Linked DNA regions of Homo sapiens: region 2 is linked to region 1. The links are contacts of gene promoters, found by promoter capture Hi-C in blood cells and fetal thymus (Javierre and others, 2016). All regions are on one chromosome and are shown on one strand. Each heading gives the region's core, a stretch centred on a gene start or on the middle of the fragment in contact. The rest is flanking DNA. Distances are from core to core; before and after follow the strand shown. Region 1 holds the start of ZNF852 (zinc finger protein 852). Region 2 holds the start of KIAA1143.

The links. Contacts are between HindIII fragments. The CHiCAGO score rates a contact against its expected background, and 5 or more counts as called.
Region 2: a contact is called between the fragment with the promoter of KIAA1143 here and the fragment with the promoter of ZNF852 in region 1, in 1 of 17 cell types (neutrophils). The highest score is 5.3, in neutrophils.

What each region holds. Positions count from the first base shown.
Region 1 is chr3:44,507,889-44,513,970 of GRCh38, forward strand. ZNF852 (zinc finger protein 852) reads right to left here and starts at 2,729. Exons shown (of 4, transcript NM_001423469.1): 1 at 2,665-2,729. RefSeq lists enhancers at 2,112-2,888, 2,889-3,665, 3,124-3,183 and silencers at 2,494-2,653, 2,664-2,723, 2,854-2,903. The HindIII fragment of the contact is 19,774 bases long and covers 1-6,082 here.
Region 2 is chr3:44,757,314-44,762,997 of GRCh38, forward strand. It overlaps KIAA1143, which reads right to left and starts at 4,306. Exons shown (of 3, transcript NM_020696.4): 1 at 4,182-4,306. The coding sequence starts at 4,289. It overlaps KIF15 (kinesin family member 15), which reads left to right and starts at 4,481. Exons shown (of 35, transcript NM_020242.3): 1 at 4,481-4,571. The coding sequence starts at 4,553. RefSeq lists enhancers at 2,819-3,461, 4,252-4,531. The HindIII fragment of the contact is 21,704 bases long and covers 1-5,684 here.

The sequences.
Region 1 (6,082 bases), core at 1,479-3,978:
TACCCAGGCCTGAATCCTTGCTTCATTACCATATTAAAATCTCCACCTAGAAGGGAGAAATACACTTGCTAGGCACATATAGTGCTGGGTACAAAAGAAACAATGAGACTGGCCAGGCGCGGTGGCTCACGTCTGTAATCCCAGCACTTTGGGAGGCCAAGGCGGGTGGATCACCTGAGGTCAGGAGTTCAAGACCCTCCTGACCAACATGGAGAAACCCCGTCTCTATTAAAAATACTAAATTAGCCAGGCATGTGGTACATGCCTGTAATCCCAGCTATTTGGGGGGCTGAGACAGGAGAACTGCTTGAACCTGGGAGGCGGAGGTTGCGGTGAGCCAAGATCAAGCCATTGCACTCCAGCCTGGGCAACAAGAGCAAAACTCCATCGCAAAAGAAAAAAAAAGAAAGAAAGAAAGAAAAAAGAATGAGACTGAGCACACTCCAGTTCTTCCCATAGGGCCCCACCTCTTTCCAGGATCTCTGCCCCACTACATGCCCTAAGAGACCTTAAAAATCCCTCTTCACCACACCCAGAGGAGGGTACTTTGAGCATGAGCTTTTCCTTCTCCATTCCTTCATCAACAAATAAAGTTTCTGCACTGCTTAACGAAACTTGGTCTCATTTTATTGGCATGAACACCACCAGGCAGGTAAAGGACCCACTGAAGTCAAACGACTTCCCTTGAGAGTTGGTAACAGTAGCATTACAAGTCAGTGGGAAAAATTAAACTAGTCAATGAATTGTGTTGGGACAATTGGCTAGGCAAATAAAAATAGTAAGTAAAATCACACAAAAAATAAAGAAACTTAAAAAACAAAGCTAAAAGGCTGGGTGCGGTGGCTCACGCCTGTAATCCCAGCTCTTTGGGAGGCCAAGGTGGGTGGATCACAAGGTCAGGAGTTCAAGACCAACCTAACCAAGATGGTGAAATCCCATCTCTACTTTAAAAAAAAAAAAAGCCAGATGTGGTGGCAGGCGCCTGTAATCTCAGATACTCGGGAGGCTGAGGCAGAGAATTGCTTGAACCCAGGAGGCAGAGGCTGCAGTGATCCAAGATTGTGCCACTGCACTCCAGCCTGGGTGACACAGAGTGAGACTCTGTCTCAAAAAAAAAAAAGAAAAAAACCATAAAGACTCTAAGAACCCTGGTGTAACCAAGAATTTCTTAAGACAACAAAATGAAAAGAGTGAATATATTTGAATACATCAATATGAAAAAAATCTCTGTCCAAAAGAAAAGCAAAAGAAAAAAACACCAAACACAAACCACTAATAGATGTGGAAATGTAATAGCCAACAGGAAGGATAGTTTGAAAGTCCACAGTAAAACTAAAAAGACATATTCCTTACGCTACAGGAATTTAACTTGTAAGAATCTGCCCTGAAAAACACTTGCACGGGTATTCAGACATTTACACAGGTATTTACTAAAATATTCTCTGTAATAACATAATACTGGATTTAACCTACTTGTCCATCAATATGGCTAAATAAAAGTAGCATTTTTATAGGATGAAATACCATACAGCACCTAAAAGGAACATACTAGATCCTTATGCATCACCATGACTGTTCCACTATTCACCAGGTGGCCAGGCTGTGCTGCCAAGATTAAAAGGCCATCCAAGGAAGGGATAGCACATGATTTGAGGTCGCTGAGGACAGATACCAACCACATCAGGCCCCAAGAGGTACAGCGTATACTTACAGCAAAAGGAGAAACAGGGAACAAGATCCAGCCTCCTGCAATGCAAAGAGCCCCCACACCCAGCAGATCCACTCCACAGCTATAGGGCTGGTGTGATGCACACACCCCACTTAGTAAGGAAGAAAGATCTCAATCCACCCTCCCCACTCCTATGGGGTGTGAAATACAGAAGGCTGAGAGAATGAATGAAGGCCACTGACTTAAGAGATTAAACACAACAAAGGAGTACACATGAAGCCTGAAACACTGAAAGACACAAGGCATTAAATGCAGCAGCACAGGCTGTGAGGGCTCTAACTCTGCAAGGAAATGTTCCAGGCTCAAGGTCACTCTTACATTCTTAACTTGGCAATGGGCTATTTAAAAAAAAAAAAAAGACATTAAAAACTGTCAATTCTTCTTGTCTCCCAGTTTAGATATTCCTTCTTTCATTAATTTAACAAACACCTTCTAGGAGCACCTACTATTTCCCATACACTAAGGTAACAGCAGTTAATAAAGCAAACAGAAAGCACTGCCCTGGCAAGGGGCTTATGGGAAGATAACCAATAAACAAATACATGCTATGTTAGACGGCGACAGGTGCCAGGAAGTGAAATAAGACAAGAAAAAGGGAGAAGTCTATGCCAGATGTTTTCAATGTCAGGAGACCTGGAGACTAAGATTTCCGGACGGTGGCTACTTTCACTTTTCTTCCACTTATCTAATTGTCTCTAATAAGTACGCTTTATTCGCATAATTGGGTGAAAAGATAAAGCCAGAAGAAACCGGGAATTTTCCAGATTCTCTGCCCCAGACGCCCGGGGGGCGAAGAGGTATGCCCTCGGCGCGGCCGGGCGGGATCCACGGCCAGACCCCCGCCCCGGGTGCAGCCTCCAGGCCCGGCCTCACCTGCCACTCTCGCACGCACAGCCGCCCCCGCTCCGCACCCCGCGCCCCGCCGGGCCGCTCACCGACTCCGCCGCCGAGAGACAATCATCCAAACGCCGCCACCGCAGCCGACCGCCCCGCGCCTACCTCCCAGCTTCCCCAGTTGCGCACGCGCGTCGCCTCCCCGGGCCCTCTGCGGCCTCTCTAGGAAACTGGGAGGGCCAACATCTCTGCTTCTCCCTGGGCCCAGGGCCGCTGGCGGCGGGCGGCGGGCGGCGGGCGGCGGGCGGCGGGCGGCGGGCGGCGGGGCTTGTCCAGCATCCTTCGCCTCCTTCCGCGGACACTTGTCTTCCACGCTCTGATGCCCAGGCGCGCTCCAGAACTCTATCGGCTTTGGCGTATTATCCTACATCCCTCCCATCGGTTCTGCACGGCTGCCCTGGAGGCCTCTTTTCCTTCAGGGAAGAAAGGGATCCAAAGCTAGCGGTGAAAATAGAGCCAGCGGCCTGGCGCGGTGGCTCACGCCTGTAATCCCAGAACTTTGGGAAGCCGAGGTGGGCGGATCACGAGGTCAGGAGATCGGTGGCTAACACGGTGAAACCCCGTGTCTACTAAAAATAAAAAAAAAGTAGCTGGGTGTGGTGGCGCGGCGCCTGTAATCGCAGCTACTTCGGCGGCTGAGGCAGGAGAATCGTTTGAACCTGGGAGGCGGAGGTTGCAGTGAGCCGAGATCGTGCCACTGCACTCCAGCCTGGGAGACAGAGCCAGACTCCGTCTCAAAAAACAAACAAACAAAAAAATAGGGCCAGCACATCCCCAAACATAAAACCCTTGAATGGAGAAATTCCCAAACAAGGCAATAAGCCCAGCACTGGCCGTGAGAGTTTATTATCCCCTTTTAAGTAAATGCTACAAGCCCTAGGCGCACTTTTGCAACTGTTCAAGGGTCATCAGGCTGCACATGACTGACCAAGACACTCAGTTGCCCACTTTGGATGGAGCTACAGCTTTGTGGGAAAAACAGATAATAGAAATTACACAAATACATCAATGTCAAGTGGTTACGAACACTGTTGAAATGTAACAGAGTTATTTAATTGACAGCGACTGATGATAATGCTTGTATTTTTTCTGGTACTTTTCTGTATACTTCCGGTAGCTCATAACACACTGGCTGCCATGCATTGATTTGAGTTGCCCAAGGAAATAGAGTCAGTAACTGGAATAGCCACTGAATCCAAATCTTTTGGTCTTTTCACTACTGTGCTTCATAAAAGCTCTCCCGTCCCACGTCCCTGTAGAGGGAGAGTTGGGGATAGCATGGCTCCTAGCTGAGATCCCAGAAGCTAGGGGTAGAAGGTTGTGGGCAGGATAGTGAGGAGGGCAAGATTCCAAGGAAAACTAAAATCCCTGCCCAGGAACGGTTACCACCTGGGAAAGCAGGAATGACCCAACGCATCAAGGCCCAGAGTGTACTCAAAGAACAACAGGTTAGGATGAGGGTCAAAACTCAGACCAGAAAGAGCATTAGCTGAGCTTGGTGGTGCACGCCTGTAGTCCTAGCTACTGTGGAGGCAGAGGCGGAAGGATCGCTTGGGCCGGGGAGGTCGAGGCTGCAGTGAGCTATGATTGGGGCAGTGTACTCCAGCTTGGGCGACAGAGCGAGACCCAAGGAAGGAAGGGAGGAAGGGAGGGAGGGAAGTGAGAAAGAGAGAAAAGGAATGAAAGAGAGAAGGAAGAAAGAGAGAGAACGAGAAAGAGCAGGCTGCTTCTTGGGCTACAACCTGGAGAGGCTGTGTAACATTATGAGTTGGAGAAGCAGGTACAAAATAGTAAAAACTTCTATAAAGTAGACTAACAGCATGTGGCAGAACAGTGGGTTTTTAAAGGTGGGAACAAGAGAACCAAACAATAGCAAAAATAGATTGATTAACATCAGGTTACTTTTCTTTTAAGGATTAAAGCAGAGGGGGCCTTCCTTATGCTGACTGGGGTTAACTGGGCCCTTTCTGAATGGTTGCTATGAATCTCCTGTTTGCAGGAAAAACTGGTCTGTTAGGGGATTCACATACTTCTATAAAATTTCAGTTTGATTATGTGGCATTTAGCATTAGGAATTCCTTCATTTATTTATTTATTTATTTTGAGACGGAGCCTCCCTCTGTCACCCAGGCTGGAGGGCAGTGGTGTGATCTCGGCTCACTGCAACCTCCGCCTCCCCTCCTGGGTTCAAGTGATTCTCCTGCCTCAGCCACCCAGTAATTGGGACCACAGACACAGGCCACCATCCCCAGCTAATTTTTGCATTTTTAGTAGAGCCAGGATTTGTCATGTCTGCCAGGCTGATCTCGAACTCCTGACCTCAGGTGATCTGCCCACCTCGGCCTCCCACAAGTGCTAGGATTACAGGTGTGAGCCACAGCGCCCAGCCTTATTTATAATTATTTATTTATTTATTTATTTTGAGATGGAGTCTCACTCTGTCACCCAGGCTGTAGTGCAGTGGCGCGATCTTGGCTCACTGCAGCCTCCGCCTCCCGGGTTCAAGCGATTCTCCTGCCTCAGCCTCCTGAGTAGCAGGGATTACAGGCATGTGCCACCATGCCTGGCTAATTTTTGTATTTTTAGTAGAGATGGGGTTTCACCATCTTGACCAGGCTTGTGTTGAACTCCTGACCTCAGGTGATCCGCCTGCCTCTGCCTCCCGAAGTGCTGGGATTACAAGATGAGCCACTGTGCCCGGCTTATTTATTTATTTTTGAGACAAAGTCTGGCTCTATCGCCCAGGCAGGAGTGCAGTGAGTGGTAGGATCTCAGCTCACTGCAACCTCCACCTGCTGGGCTCAGGCCATCATCCCACCTCAGCCTCCTGAGTAGCTGGGACTACAGGCGCACACCACCACACCCGGATAAGTTTTTTTTTTTTTTTTTTGGTAGAGATGGGGTTTTGCCATGTTGCCCAGGCTGGTCTTGAACTCTTGACCTCAGGTGATCCACCTGCCTAGGACTCCCAAAGTGCTGGGATTACAGGAGTGAGCCATGGCGCCCAGCCACTGGTTGTTAATCTTTTAAATATCATCCCTGAGAAGAAAAGAGACCTAGGTAACAGAACTGAAACAGTTCTGTCTGTGAACTGGAAGGAAGTCGTTGAGGAGGTCAATTTCTTTCCCTTCCTGCAGCCCCTCCTCATAGGTAGAAGGAGACAAGGTGGAAAAACAGCTCCTTTAGCCCCTCCCCCAATCACCCAATTAACCCTTTAGTTGCTGGACCATATGAACGATTCAGGATTGGCCTTGCTGTCAGAAAGATGAGGTGGATTGACAAGGTGGGGACAGCTGGTGTCAGAGGGCCATGGGGTTAAGGGCCTCTTTTATTCTCAACAAGCCTATGTCATTGTTCTCTGAGTGGGTTGGAGATGAATGGGTTGCTTGCTAAAAGGAGAGCTGGATGTGTCCTGTGCTTATGATCTCCCACATGGCCTGGCTCTGGTTACCTTAATGT
Region 2 (5,684 bases), core at 3,056-5,555, 250 kb after region 1:
TCCCTGTTGCTTACTAAATAGTCCACATGGCCTCACCTCCACTAGCCCCTCTAACACTTCTACATACAGTCCATGACTCTCAAATCTCTACACCTTTACCCATGCCATTCTCTTCATCTCTACCTGCTGACCTAACCATGCTCGAGAGTCTATCTAAATATCCCTCCTCCACGAAGTCTAACCTGATAACAGCACAGTCACCAACAAATACAACTGTTACCCACTACTTCGTGCCAGGCACTGTGCTAGGTGCTGGGAAAATACGGAAGGATTAAGATACTAACTTAAAGAGTTCAATCTAGTGGTGAAGATAAACAGGAAAGCAAGTAGTTGCAATATAAAATGAATGTTATAGATAAGATATGGATAAGGTAAAGAGAAAAACAGAAAGAGTAACTGTTTGGAGAGCTTTGAAGGGTTTCGGAGAGATGGTAACTTGTGAAAATAGGGCAGGAAGTGTTAAAGAACATGGCATTTTGGAGATCCATCTCTTCGTCCTTTCAGAGCCTGCGACAGTGCATGGGGTTAGCACATACTCATTCTACTGGCATACCTTGAAGATACCGCAGATTTGGTTCCAGACCACCACAACAAAGCAAGTATCAAAATAAATTGTCACACAAATTTTCTGGTTTCCCAGTTCACATAAAAGTTATGTTCACACTATACACTAACTACAGTTAGTATTAAGTATGCAATATCATTATGTCTAAAAAAATCTAGATCCCATTAAGTACACGATTCATGGGAGGAGGCAAAATATCAACATTAACAGGAGTCTGGAAGATGTACCTACCTTAATTTAAAAATACTTTATTGCTAAAAACATTAAAAATCATCTGAGCCTTCAGTGAGTCCTAATCTTTTTGCCAGTGAAGGGTCTGCCCTTGATGCTGATGGATGTTGACTGATGAGGGTGGTGGTTGCTGAAAGGCGGGGTGGCTGTGGCAATTTTTAAAAATAAGACGATGAAGTTTGCTGCATTGAGTCTTCCTTTCACAAAAGATTTCTCTTTTGTGATGCTGCAATGCTGTTTCATAGCATTTTACCCACAGCTGAACTCCTTTCAAAATTGGAATCAGTCCTCTTAAACCTGCTGCTGCTTTACCAAGTAAGTTTATTCTAAATCCTTTATTGACATTTCAACAATGTTCACAGCATCTTCACCAGAAGTAGATTCCATCTCAATAAACCACTTTTTTTGCTCATCAATAAGAAGCAACTCATCTGTTCAATTTTTATGAGACTGCAACAACTTAGTCACATTTTCAGGCTCTACTTCTAATTCTAGTTCTTTTGCTTGTTCTACCACACCTGCAATTACTTCCTCCACTGAAGGCCTGAATCTCTCGAAGTCATCCATGAAGGTTGGAATCAACCTCTTCCAAATTCCTGTTAATGTTGATATTTTGCCCTCTTCCCATGAATCATGGATGTTCTTAACGTGTTTAGAATGGTGAAGCCTTTCCATAAAGTTTTCAATTTACAATATCCAGATGCATCAGAGGAATCACTATCCATGGCAGCTGTAGCCTTACAAATGGTTTTGACTTTTTTTTTTTTTTTTGAGACAGGGTCTGGCTCTGTTACCCAGGCTCGAGTGCAGTGGTGCAATCATGGCTGACTGCAGCCTCAACCTACCTGGGGTCAGGGAATCCTCCCACCTCAGCCTCCCAAGTAGCTGGGACCACAGGTGCATGCCACCACACTGGGCTAAATTTTGTATTTTTTGTAGAGATGGGGTCTCACCATGTTGGCCAGGCTGGTCTTGAACTCCTGGGCTCAAGCAATCCACCTGCCTTGACTTCCCAAAGTGCTGGGATTACAAGTGTGAGCCATTGCGCCTGGCTGTTATTTCTTAAATAATAAGACTGAAAATAGAAATTACTCCTTGATCCATGGGCTGCAGAATGGATGTTGTGTTAGCAGGCATGAAAACCCCACGTTAATCTCCTTGTAGATCTCCATCAGAGTTCTTGGGTGACCAAGTGTATTGTCCATGAGCAATAATATATTGAAAGAATCTTTTTTTTTCTGAGCAGTAGGTCTCAACAGTGGGCTAAAAATAATTCAGTAAACCATATTATAAAGAGATGTGCTGTCATCAAGGTTTTGTTTTTCCATTTCTAGAGCACAGGCAGAGTAGATTTAGCATAATTCTTACGGACCCTAGGATTTTTGGAATGGTAAGTATTAGCTTCAACTTAAAAGTCACCAGCTGCATTAGCTCCTAATGAGAGAGTTAGCCTGTCCTTTGAAAATATGAAGCCAGGCACTGACTTCTCTCTAGCTATGAAAGTCCTAAATGGCCCAGGCATAGTGGTTTTTGAGAGGCTTTGAGAGGCTAAAGTGGGAGGATTGCTTGAGTCCAGGAGTTTGAGACCAGCCTTGGCAACACAGTGGAATCCTGTCTCTACAAAAAAATACAAAAATTAGCCAGATGCGTTAGTTCATGCCTGTAGTCCCAGCTGCTTGAGAGGCTGAGGCAGGAGGATCACTTGAGCCCAGGAGGTCAAGGCTGCAGTGAGCTGTGATTGCACCACTGCACTCTAGCCTGGGCGACAGAGTGAGACCCTATCTCAAAAAAAAAAAAAAAAAAAAAGTCCTAGATGGCATCTTCTTCCAATAGAAGGCTGTTTCATCTACATTGAAAACCTGTTTAGTGTAGCCACCTTCATCAACTATCTTAGCTAGATCTGAATAATTTGCTTCTTCATCTCATACTTTTATGTTATGGAGATGGCTTCTTTCCTTAAACCTCATGAACCAACCTCTGTTAGCTTCACACTTTTCTTCTGCAGCTTTCTCACATGTCTCAGACTTCACAGGATTTAAGAGTTAGGGCCTTGCTCTAGATTAGGCTTTGGTTAAAGGGAATGTTGTGGCTGGTTTGCTCTTCTATCCAGACCACTAAAACTTTCTCTGTATCAGCAATGTAGCTGTTTTGCTTTCTTGTCATTCATGTGTTCAATACTGATCCCTCCGGCCCTAGACAACAATAGTCAGGTGTGGCTCTTTCCTGAAGCTCCTCTTCTTCTATTTAGACCCAGGATATTTACGGCTTCTGCTTACTCTTCTTTTTTTTCTTTTTTTTGAGACGGAGTCTCGCTCTGTCGCCCAGTCTGGAGTGCAGTGGCGCGATCTCGGCTCACTGCAAGCTCCTCCTCCTGGGTTCACGCCATTCTCCTGCCTCAGCCTCCCGAGTAGCTGGGACTACAGGCGCCCGCCACCATGCCTGGCTAATTTTTTGTATTTTTAGTAGAGACGCGGTTTCACTGTTTTAGCCAGGATGGTCTCGATCTCCTGACCTCGTGATCTGCCGCCTCAGCCTCCCAGAGCGCTGGGATTACAGGCGTGAGCCACCAGGCCCGGCTTTTTTTTTTTTTTTTTGAGACGGAGTCTCGCTCTGTTGTCCAGGCTGGAGTGCAGCTGCGCCATCTCAACTCACTGCAACGTCCACCTCCCGGGTTCGAGCGATTCTGTCTCAGCCTCCGGAGTAGCTGGGACTACAGGCATGTGCCACCATGCCCGGCTAATTTTTGTATTTTTAGCAGAGACGGGGGGTTTCACCATATTGGCTATTGGCTCTGCTGGTCTCGAACTCCTGACCTCAGGTGATCCGCCCACCTAGGCCTCCCAAAGTACTGGGATTACAGGCGTGAGCCACTGTGCCCGACCTTCTCTATATTATTTTTATTTATTTTTAATTAACAAAGCATAGAAACAGATTCAGGACATTCCTCCGAAGACGTTCCAGACTCGAGTCCTAGGACATGGTTGGGGCGGGGGTCATTTGATCGAGTGGCCTGTGTCCTTATCTGGAATACGGGACGACGCTGTAACTCTAACTCACCCTGCGAACTCACAGCTTTTGAGGTAAACAAGTGAGAAAGAAGAGACAATAAAGTGATCTTTCTTTACCATCTACCAAGGACCAGGTGGTTTACACGTCAGTTCATTTTCAGGAACACAGCAGCGCTCTGAAAACTACAGAGCTTCCTGGGCGTAGGGGGCTGTGGTCGCTTGAAAAGAACCAGCCTGGGGGTCCGAGTTCCACCGGAATTGGGTTCGAGCGCGGGTGAAAAGAGGGACCCGACAGCACCCACCCTCCAAGTAGAGGCAAAAGTTGAAAGTGGCGGGCTGGCTGCGCTTCCGAAGAAACACGACTGGCGAAGGCTCACCTTAGTCTCTACGGTGGGTCCCTCCCTGTAGCCGACCCGTTCCTTGAAGCGGGCCAGAAACGCCGGCTCGGCTGGCCGCACGTACGATACCTGGTTCCGCTTGCTCATGGTAGCTCTGGGTAAAGACAGAAGACAGGTTCCGCGACGGATTCGCGACGATACAGAGGCGCTTAGCTGTGACGTCACTGGGCCACGCCCCCGATGCGTAGGCCGGGCAACATGGCGGCCTCCATGCGGGCGTCAACGTCCGATCCAAGCGCCAAATTCAAATTTGCGGCCATCTTGAGCGGGCGGAATTCAGTCGCGCGCGGTGCAGTCGGGAGGTGGAGGCACCGGCTGCATTGTTTTCGGGATCGAGGGGTGAGGGCGCTATGGCACCCGGCTGCAAAAGTAAGTCTGGGCCCCCGGCTTCGTTACCCTATTTTTGCCCCCAAATACAGCTGTGAAAGGATGGCAGCCTCGGACCGCCCGCAAGGTTCTTGCTAGGCATGAACTGCAGGAGCTGAGTGACCGGCGGGGACGTTTGGGAATCCCGCTCTGTCGCTCAAAGACAATACGCTAGCCGAAAAGCTCATCCCTTCCTTCAGTGTCCTGTGCGCATGCCAGGAGTCTGGCGCAGTTCTAGGCGCTCGGGATGAGCAGTGGACCTGACGTTCTTCCCTTTCTTTCCCTTGGTTCTGCTGTTTCTTCGCAGGCCTCTTCCCACATCCCGACCAGGGCTACCTCTCTAGATATCCTTGTCTCAGGATCGGCTTTTGCTCCCACCAGCTTCTGCGTATTTCTACATTTCTGACCTTCCTATAGGGAAGGGTTTATTTATATTCCAAACATTTCTTTCTCCTCTTTCCTTAAATAAATGGAATGTTAAAACACAGATGTCAGCAATGTCTTTATGTTCTCACAGTCTCTATTTTCACTTAAAGGAGACCCGTCCGATTTCTTTCTCTTTTTCACGGAGGAGAGCACTGTCATTTTGCTTATGATAAACCCTACAGTTTTCACTAACGTAGTCATTTGCTGTGCCTGTGTACGTGCTCCACTTCTCACATTGCCACATCTCTTAAGGAGTCTTATTTTTGTAAACCTGATTATGAGCTGATTTAATGGGATCTTTGTGAGTGGTCTGAATGGTAATGAGGAGAGGCCTGGATTAGATGATTAAGAATTTGTGAACTTCTGTCATTTGAGCTTTCCAACGCCGTTAATGTTTCTAGCTTTCTGTCAATTGTAGTCGTTTTTGATGGGTTTGTTGTTTCATTAATCTTTTAGGTCGATCACACCTAATCGGAACACCTCCTTATGCTACCTTTTTGCATATAAAATATTCCTTTTCCTTTCATCATTTTCAGTATTCAAGGACTATGAGCTCACAAAATGGTACCTTATTGGAGAGAAATGTTCATCCTGCTTTCTGAACAATCATACTGTTTGTTCTTTGTTTCCACTTTATGGATCAGTCACTAAATCTGGACTCAAGCAAAAAATTTGATGCCTGTTAAATAA